Linked DNA regions of Homo sapiens: all the other regions are linked to region 3. The links are contacts of gene promoters, found by promoter capture Hi-C in human tissues and cell types (Jung and others, 2019). All regions are on one chromosome and are shown on one strand. Each heading gives the region's core, a stretch centred on a gene start or on the middle of the fragment in contact. The rest is flanking DNA. Distances are from core to core; before and after follow the strand shown.

Region 1 (2,860 bases), core at 209-2,708, 37 kb before region 3:
CTTGGAGTCTCTGTGCTAGAAACTGTAAGCCACCTGCTGAGCCTCAAACCCAATTAATTACCACTCTTTTGACCCTGCCAATCCCTGTTGTGTAAGACCTCTCTACTCTCTATTTCTCCCACTTGCTCCCCAATGATCTAGTTCCCCAGGTCCCACCTCTCCTGAATCTCTCCAGCCCACCCCTCCCTGCCGGAACCCCATTCCTGCCTCAATCTTCCCTGCTTCTGCACTCACCAGCCCCTGGGCCAAGGACAGAGAACAGCAACAGCAGCAATAGGGCTGGCGGCAGCTGAAACCCAGACTTGAGTCTAGGCTGGGAGAGGGGCAGAGTATGAGAGATAGGGGGGACTAGAGGGAGAGACTTGGGTAAACACAGAGATGAGGGCAAAGGCTGAGATAATGGGTTGGGCTGGGCTGGACACTGGGGCTTGAACAAGGGCAGGGAGTGGGATGGAAGGAAGGGCTGTGATGGGGACTGCAGCAAGGGACGGGGTTGAGCCAGGGCCTTAAGCAAACACTGGGAATGGGGCTGGGACAGGGCCTGGGCTGGGATTTGTGACAGGGGGTGGAACGAGGGCCGAGGCCGGGATGGGGGCCAGGCCAGGGGCAGAGACTGGAAGGGGGTCCTGGATGGGGACCCAGGCAGGGGCTGGGGCCGATGTGGGAAGCGGGGCGAGGGCGGGGCTGGGGGCCAAGGCGGGGATTGGGATAGGACGAGGGGCCGGGACAAGGGCTGGGCCATGGCCCGGGGCGGGGGCGGGGCCGGACAGGCCAGCGCGGGGCGCTCGCAGAGCTGGCCCGCGGCTCCGCTCCCCACCCCCGGGGGGTGGCCTCCGGTGTCCTCGCGGGCCCGGGGCGGGGGCCGGGGACCTGGGTAGGAGTTCAGGCCTGGGCGACTCCGGGCTGCGCTGAACCGGCGATAACCAGGCCCCGCGGCGGCGGCCTCGACTTGACGTCGGCGTGACGCCCCGCCCCCCGGCCGGCTCGATTGGTCCCTGTCAGTAAAGCCCGCCCCCGCCCTACTCTATTGGTCCCCAACTTAGTCCTGCTGGGCTTCGAGGACACACAGACTCCGCCCCCGCCTCAGCTACCCGAGACCCTGCCTTTCTCACCCCAAGCACAGAGCCCGAGGTCCCCTCAGATCCTCACAGCCCCCAACGACCGCCCCACAGATGTCTCAAAGGAACCCTATCCTCACAATCCCAGACTCCCCCGGACGTACGCACAGATCTCCGCAGATCCTACCCAAACACTCGCTCACAGAGATCCCGCAACACACACCCCACTTTTCAGAAGTAAACCCTCTGGGCTCGCCCCCTCGAGGCCCAATGCAAGCCCCTCAGGAGACCTTACCCACCGGGGAGGTGACCAGACCGCCGTTGCCACGGAGACTACTAGGCGTTCCGGTTGCCCTGGTGACCGGCGCCTACTCTCCTGGCCCGGGTTCCGGAGGCTTCAGTCAAGACCCTCCCTCATTGGCCCTAGACCCCTTGTCCCTACCCACTTCCCCAGGTCATGCCAGAGCTCCTTTGCGAAGTTCTGCAGATATCCAAGTCCCCTTCCCAGATAGCAGACTTTCAGGCAAGGCATTTCAACACTCAGCACCTGCAGCTGAGGCACATCCACAACCAAGAGCCTTTCCTCCCTGAGGATCAACACCTCCCCCTGCCATCCTAAGTCAAGGTCTTGACCTAAGGACTTGTAACAACCAAGCCAAAGCCCAGAGGGTAGGTGGTTTCTCCAACGGCCCTTGCCCTCTTCCCTCAAAGACATCTGTCTTTCTCCCACCCCTCAGTCCCTTCACATTGTTGTAGTAGTAGTAGTAGTAGTAGTAGTAGTAGTAGTAGTAGTAGTAGTTGTTGTTGTTGTTGTTGTTGTTGTTGTTGTTGTTGTTGTTTGAGACAGAGTCTCGCTCTGTCCCCCAGGCTGGAGTGCAGTGGTGCGATCTGGGCTCACTGCAACCTCCGCCTCCCAGGTTCAAGTGATTTGCTTGCTTCAGCCTCCCCAGTAGCTGGGACTACAGGCGCCTGCCACCATGCCCAGCTAATTTTTGTATTTTTAGTAGAGACTGGGTTTCACCATGTTGGCCAGGCTGGTCTCGAACTCCTGACCTCAAGTGATCCACCCGCCTTGGCCTCCCAAATTCTGGGATTACTGGCATGAGCCACCATGCCTGGCCCACATTCTGTACTTTTCATCCTTACTCTCCTCCTCCACCCAATTTCCTCCTCCCCTTCTCTTTCCCCTTCCTCACCTCCCATCTTCTGGTTCTCCACTCTTAGGCCCCTTTTCTCTCTAGCTGACTCTGGTCATCTTCCTCCCTGTAATCCTACCTCTGCCCCTAATTCCCTTCCCAAACATCCCCTTCAAAAAGGCTCTGATGCATTTAAGGAGTGATATATCTAGCGTCTCTGGAACATGGGGGTAAAGTAGGGAGCACGGAAAGTTAAGGCAGGAATCCTCAGGCTGTGTTGAAAATGATGACAGGCCTTGAATGCCAGGGCCAAGAAATTTGGACTTAATCCTTTAGACTGAGTCATGGAATGTTTTTAAGCCACAAAGTGCCAGTTGTTGGGCTTGCACTTTAGAAAGATCCTGATTGGGTCAGGAAGGAGGACTACATCCTTGCAGGATAAATTAGGTATATCCCCCTCCCCACCGTATCCTAGACTCACCCCAGAACAACATCAATTTATTTGTATTGCCATTGTTGGTTAATCGGTCTCTCTCCTAGACTCAACTCAATCTAGAGCTTAGCACAGCGGGTCAGTAAAAGCATCAGATTAGGCTCATTGTAAAAGTATAAGTTACATAAATCCATGAAAGAATGGGTGAATGGATTAAAATGCTGTGGATGGAA
Region 2 (2,756 bases), core at 253-2,752, 63 kb after region 3:
TTGCTGATCCCACGCCCAGCCAGGCCACTGACCACACCCCCACTTCACTCCCAGCCTGACCCTGCCACTGACCACAGCACTATCCTCTACTCAGCCTGACCCAGCCACTGGCTGTACCCCATCCCCCATCCCAGCTCCAGCTTTACTTAGACATTGCCAATGTCCCTTCACTTTCCCACCCCCACCCCAGTCTGATTTAGTGACTGACCACAGGCCCAGCTCTTCTCAACCTCCTATAGCCTGACCTGGCCTCTGACCTCACCCCATCATTCCCTGACTTAGCCACCATCCATGTAATCATTCCCCTTCCCCCAACCTGATGCAGTGACTGGTCATATATGTATCTTATGTATATGTATTTTTCCAAACACCATCATCACCAGCATTCTTTTTCTACACCCTGTCTTCTCATCCTTTTTCTACACCCTGTCTTCCCCATTCCCAGCCTGATGCAGTCACTAACCCAACCCCATCTGCCCCTAGTGGCTACTAATCATATACTCATACCCTTTTTCCCCACAGCCTAACCACATCCCGTAACCACAGCCTCATCCTCACATTCTCTGCCCAACCTGATCCTTTCCCCTCTTCCCAATTCGTCGCCTAAACTCAAGCTGCCCCAGCCGCTAAAGTGGCTGCTGATGATAGGAAGCTGTGGGACTCTAACCTGTCTACCTTAGTAGTTATTAGGTCCTGTCATTTCTACCTCCCCAAACTTGTTCTGAGTGACATCTTCCTCAATGCCATTCCAACTCCGGCTTCATTACCTTTAATTTGTACTAATACAGTGTCCTTCTAACTAATCTCCAAGGTAACTGCCAGAGTTATTTTTCTAAAATCCAGTTCCGGTTATGTCTCTTCTCTGCTCAAAGACTCCCTTGGCTTCCTTTTGTCCTCCAATAAGTAAAATTCCTCATACCCCTCTCCAGTCTTCCTCTGCCTTTCCATCCTAACCCTGACTTCCCCACCACTGCTCCCTTGCAGGTACCCCTGTGCTTCAACAGCCTGCCTGCTCACTTCCCTGAATGCTCCTCCACGATTTACTGCTTCTCCATCTTTGCTTATGCTATTTCTCTGCCTGGAGTGAAAACTACCCCTGACACATCTCCAGCTGGCTGGCGTAGTGGAGAAAGCTTGGGCTTTGCAGTCAGAAACCTGGGTTCGGATCCTGGCTTCACAACTTATTATTTGGAGAAGTATTTGAACAAGTATTTAACATCTTTGAGTCTGTTTTCTGATCTGTAAAAATGGAAATAATGACACCTACTGTAAGGATTAAATGAAATTATGTATACAATGCAAGTGACATAGTCAATAAATGGCAGATCACTATTGTTTTTTATTATCTCTATTTTTTAAAATTCTAGCTTCAAATGATACTTATCATGGAGACTTTTTGGTTCCCCTTCCCTGACCTAAAGGGATCTCTCTGAGCACACACCTTTTGGCTCTTACCACATCCTGCCCTCCGTTGTGATTCTGTACTTGGCTTATTCACTCATCTCGTGGACTGGGAGCCCTTTGAACTCAAAGGCTAGGTCTTACTGATCTTGGTCCCCAGCCACTGAAAGTTTGGCCCAGGGTCTTCCCCACAGCTGGCCCTCAAGGAATGCTTGCTGGGTGAATGGAGAATGTCTACATAATGGGAGGAGAGACACTGGGTGCCGGGTGTGCTTGTTATGGAGGTTATCTGTGCAAAAGCTGTGTGCATAGGATGGGCTCCCTAGGAGAAGATAATGCAGTCGTGATGGGATCTGTGTGGGGGCTGTGTGATTGAGATAATGTGTGTATAGAGAGAGTAAGGTAGCTTTGTGGGAAAGAGCTCTGCCTAGGCTGGGGTGCATCTGGGGAGAATGAGTGTGCATTTGAGTATGGAGGGGCTGTACCGGGGGAAGTTCTGTGCAGCCCTTCAGCTAGCTGCCCAGTCCAGCTCTAAATGAGTCTCCAGCAGCCTGAGGCCGGATATGTCAGTCTCACCCACAGCCCTCCCCCACTGCCAGCGGTTGCGGACTCAGAGGCCAAATTTGGTAACAGACTGAGTGTTACTCCCCCATCCCTCTTATATTCTGACTGTCTTAAGCTCTTTCCTTTTGTTCCTGTCTGTAACTCCCTATCTTTCTGCAATTCCCCTTGTGGGTATCTGCTCTGACTATATTCTCCAAGTACCCCAACTTTCTTAGCTCCAATACTCTTACATTCCATTCCTTGCTGGGATTTGACCTCCTGTCCTCCATTCCCCCCCTCCAATTGCCCAACTTCTTTGGAATGCATCGCAGGAATGTATTGAGGGAGGAGGAGTTCCCTGGGAGGGGGACACGGCAGTGGGGAGTTGCTGTTCCATCAAACACAATGGAAAAGGGAGCAAAGTTCTCAGGCCAAAGGAGGAATGAGCTAGCTTCTACTCATACTTGTAGCAGCCTTGTTCTTTGCCACCACCACCCACAATTCACTGATCAGTTCTTCGCGTCCACACACCCTCTTGTAGCTGTGTGAATATCCACTCTGGACCAGCTGGGGAGTAAGGGTAGGCATGACTCAGCTCCCTTATCGGGGTCTCACCAGAGGCTTCCGTGCTTGAGGAGGAAGGGGGTGTCTAAGTGTCCAGAGGAAATGGGGGGAGACATGCAGTTTCAGCTTAGTGTGAAGGGTCCTTTCAGTCCTGCTTCTTGGCTCCACAGACTCCTCCAGCTTCTCGGATCCACCAGCCCAGCCCTCATTCTTTCATGGTCAGCAACCCCATAGCCAGGTCTGTCCAG
Region 3 (2,749 bases), core at 1-2,500:
GGGGCCAGTGCGAACCAGGGTACGATAATGGTCATTCTTAGCCGAAAAACCAGAGGCCACAGCACCCGCAGTCAGCAGGGGAAGGCGCCAGTGGGAGGCAAAGCGGGCCACAGAGGCAGCAGGGTACACGCAACCGGGACCTAACAGCAGGTCGGGGTCATGGTACAGCTTGAGGTCCACAGCGCTCAGCGGTGCCAGGTACTCAGAGCAGGCGCCTTCCAGTTCGGAGCTGACAAACCGCAGGTCCACGGGCAGTGCCCGGCCCAGAGCCTCCACAGCTAGTGCCACAGCGGGTCCCACCCGTGGCCAGGCCCAGGCATAGCTCAGGTTGTGTTCTGGCAGCACCACCGCCAGCGTCAGGTTCCGCGCCCCGGGAGGACGCACCCCACCTGCCAGGGCTGCCACCAACAGCAGAAGTGATGGCAGCGCCATGGGGATAAAGCAGCAGCCCCACCGCCCCCAGAACTTGGGGCTGCTCTGGCCTACAGGGGAGACGCGAGCACCCCCCAGCCTGGAGCCTGGGGAAGAGGGCCAGGAAGAGGAGGAGTAGGCTAGGTAGGCTGGGATGCAGAAGGTGCTGGGGGCCGGGGAGAGGAGGGGGAGATGGGAGGAAGGCGGGGGGCGGGCAAGGAGTGGGCTACCAGCCTAGGGCAAGGACTGAGGACTGAGAACGGGGTGGCAGGGGGAGGGAGGGACCGAGGGGGCCTGCGGCCAGGATGGGGACAGTGCGAGGTGAAGAAGCCTGATAAATCTAAAGCTGAGAAGGAAAAGGGGATCTGGGACTGGGATGGGGTGGGGGTGGGGGGCGGGTGGTACAAAGAAACGGCCTGGGGGAACCTCACAGCTGAAAGGGCCGGGAGGGCAGGAGGGCGCTGCGCCACATAGGACCAAGGGGGTAAGGTGGGAGGGTGCCCGCGCCGCGGAAGGACTGGGATCATGGGCAGGCGGGGAGCGAAGCGAGGCCTGGGCCGGAGGGCAGGGGAAGGCAGGGGTAAATCTCCCTGTGAAGGATTCTCCCGGAGCTCCTGCTTGGACTAACGGGCCCGGGCGCTGGTCCCATCCGGAGCTACGGCGGCCCCGCCCGTGTCCCCGCTCCTCTCTGCTCCGCTTCTCCTGGGCCCTGGCGGCCGGCGCTGCCCGGCGCTTCCTCCCGCCCCCCGCCTGGGCCCCGCGCGCGCCGCTCGTCCGGGTCAGGTCGCCTCGGCCCGGCCCGTCTCCGCTCGCTGCGCCGGCGGCCGAGTGCGACTCCCCCGGGCAGGCCGCCCGCCCCCGCCCCTCCCCCGCTGCCTCTCCTCCTCCCTCCCGGCCCCACCCTCCGGCGCCGGCTGCCTTCCCCCACCCCCCACCCGGGCGCTCGGGACCGCCAGGTCCCAAACCCACCCCGGTGAGCACTTGGGGGCTCCGCACCAAGGCCTCGCCGGCCAGCAGGGTTCCCGGGCGCTCCCTCACTCTCAGGGCCTACCCTGGTCTCCCCCACGCCCCTGGTCCCCCTGCCGCCCCTCCTTCCATTTCCATCTCACACACGCCAGCGACCCCAGGGTTTGTCCTCTCCCCCTCGCTCAGCCCGTTCTTCTTGGGTCTCCCCTCTGAACTCCCTGAGTCCCTCAGTGGTTCCAGTCTCCAGGAAGCAGTCGAGGATCCCCAGACGTGTGGTATCCTCACCAGCCCCCTCACCTAGCAAACCATAGCGCCCTCCCGACGGCAGTGCGGCTTACTCCACCGCGGACCATGCCCGCTCCCTGGACGGGCCCCTCCAGCAGCCAGGGGCCCCTGCTGTACACTTCCCACCAGTCCTTAGAAAGTCCACGAGGCTCCTTCTTGCTTGGGACTCAACTCTCGGCCCCCCGCTGTCTCCATGCCCCCTGCCCTCCTCGTGTCCTCAGAGGCCCACCGCAGCCCGCCCGGCTTCCTCCGCACCATCTGCTCAGTCAGGGCCTCGATTTTCTTTTGTCTCCTGCACAGCGCAGGCTGGCGCCTGGGGAAAGCCTGTAACGGACCGGCGGGACACTCCCCGCAGTGGAAGCCCATCCACGCTCTCCTGGGGTTCCACCTTGCTCCCAGCTTCCCTTAGGAAGCTCTCCCTAGGGCCCTCATATCTGGAGTGCCAATCTGACCCCAAGAACAGCTTGTGAGGGATGATCTCATGGTGGCTGAGAGGGACTGCTATGGGACCTTGGGGATTTTTCTCCAACTGTCATAAAGGACATGCACATAAGCCCATTCTCTGCCCGCGCTAAGAGCCACGGTTTCTCTCCCCCCTTCAAGCTATTTCTCCAGAAATCACAAGCTAAGAGCGCTCCTGGAGCCCTGGAGTGGGGTGGGAGTGTATAGGGCGAGGACGGGCATGGTTTCCCTGAGATGAAGGCGACACCTAGTGGTTTGGTGGGGGAAATTAAGGACAATGCCACTTTATCCTTAGGCACGATATTTATTGAACACCGGCTGCCTAGCACAAGCTGTACCTGTGAATACAAAGAAAGCCGAATGATACAGCCCTTACCTTTGAGGAACATGCATTTGCAATCCCTGGGGCACAGAGGCCAAGAGCAGGCCGTCCCTAACAATGTTCTTGCCTCAAGCCCAGTAGAGATGGAAGCCTCAGGACAGCTCCTTCTTTAACGCAGAGGGGTTGGTAACTCTAGTTCCAGGCTCCCAATACTGCAGTGAAAAGGAATTTTGTCCTATCTGGCCAAGGCAAAAAAAAAAAAAAGGAACAGTCAAAAGAATGACGAGACAACATGAGAAATAC

What was found. Contacts are between HindIII fragments. The study calls those that stand out against the background at their distance.
Region 1: a contact is called between the fragment with the promoter of FAM221B here and the fragment with the promoter of NPR2 in region 3, in 6 of the 25 tissues and cell types used here (IMR-90 fibroblasts, adrenal gland, bladder and 3 more).
Region 2: a contact is called between a fragment that was not itself captured here and the fragment with the promoter of NPR2 in region 3, in 1 of the 25 tissues and cell types used here (neural progenitor cells).

The regions. Positions count from the first base shown.
Region 1 is chr9:35,827,330-35,830,189 of GRCh38, reverse strand. It overlaps FAM221B (family with sequence similarity 221 member B), which reads left to right and starts at 1,458. Exons shown (of 7, transcript NM_001012446.4): 1 at 1,458-1,727. TMEM8B (transmembrane protein 8B) reads right to left here and starts at 962. Exons shown (of 13, transcript NM_001042590.4): 1 at 235-962. The coding sequence starts at 742. RefSeq lists an enhancer at 1-370 and a silencer at 656-1,105. The HindIII fragment of the contact is 23,285 bases long and covers 1-2,860 here.
Region 2 is chr9:35,727,628-35,730,383 of GRCh38, reverse strand. All of the region lies in intron 1 of TLN1 (talin 1), which reads left to right. Among named protein-coding and RNA genes, the nearest start is that of TLN1, 3.2 kb to the left of the region's middle. RefSeq lists enhancers at 22-81, 2,477-2,756. The HindIII fragment of the contact is 3,260 bases long and covers 1-2,756 here.
Region 3 is chr9:35,790,092-35,792,840 of GRCh38, reverse strand. It overlaps NPR2 (natriuretic peptide receptor 2), which reads right to left and starts at 1,250. Exons shown (of 22, transcript NM_003995.4): 1 at 1-1,250. The coding sequence starts at 432. It also overlaps a transcript of RGP1 not described here. The HindIII fragment of the contact is 19,498 bases long and covers 1-2,749 here.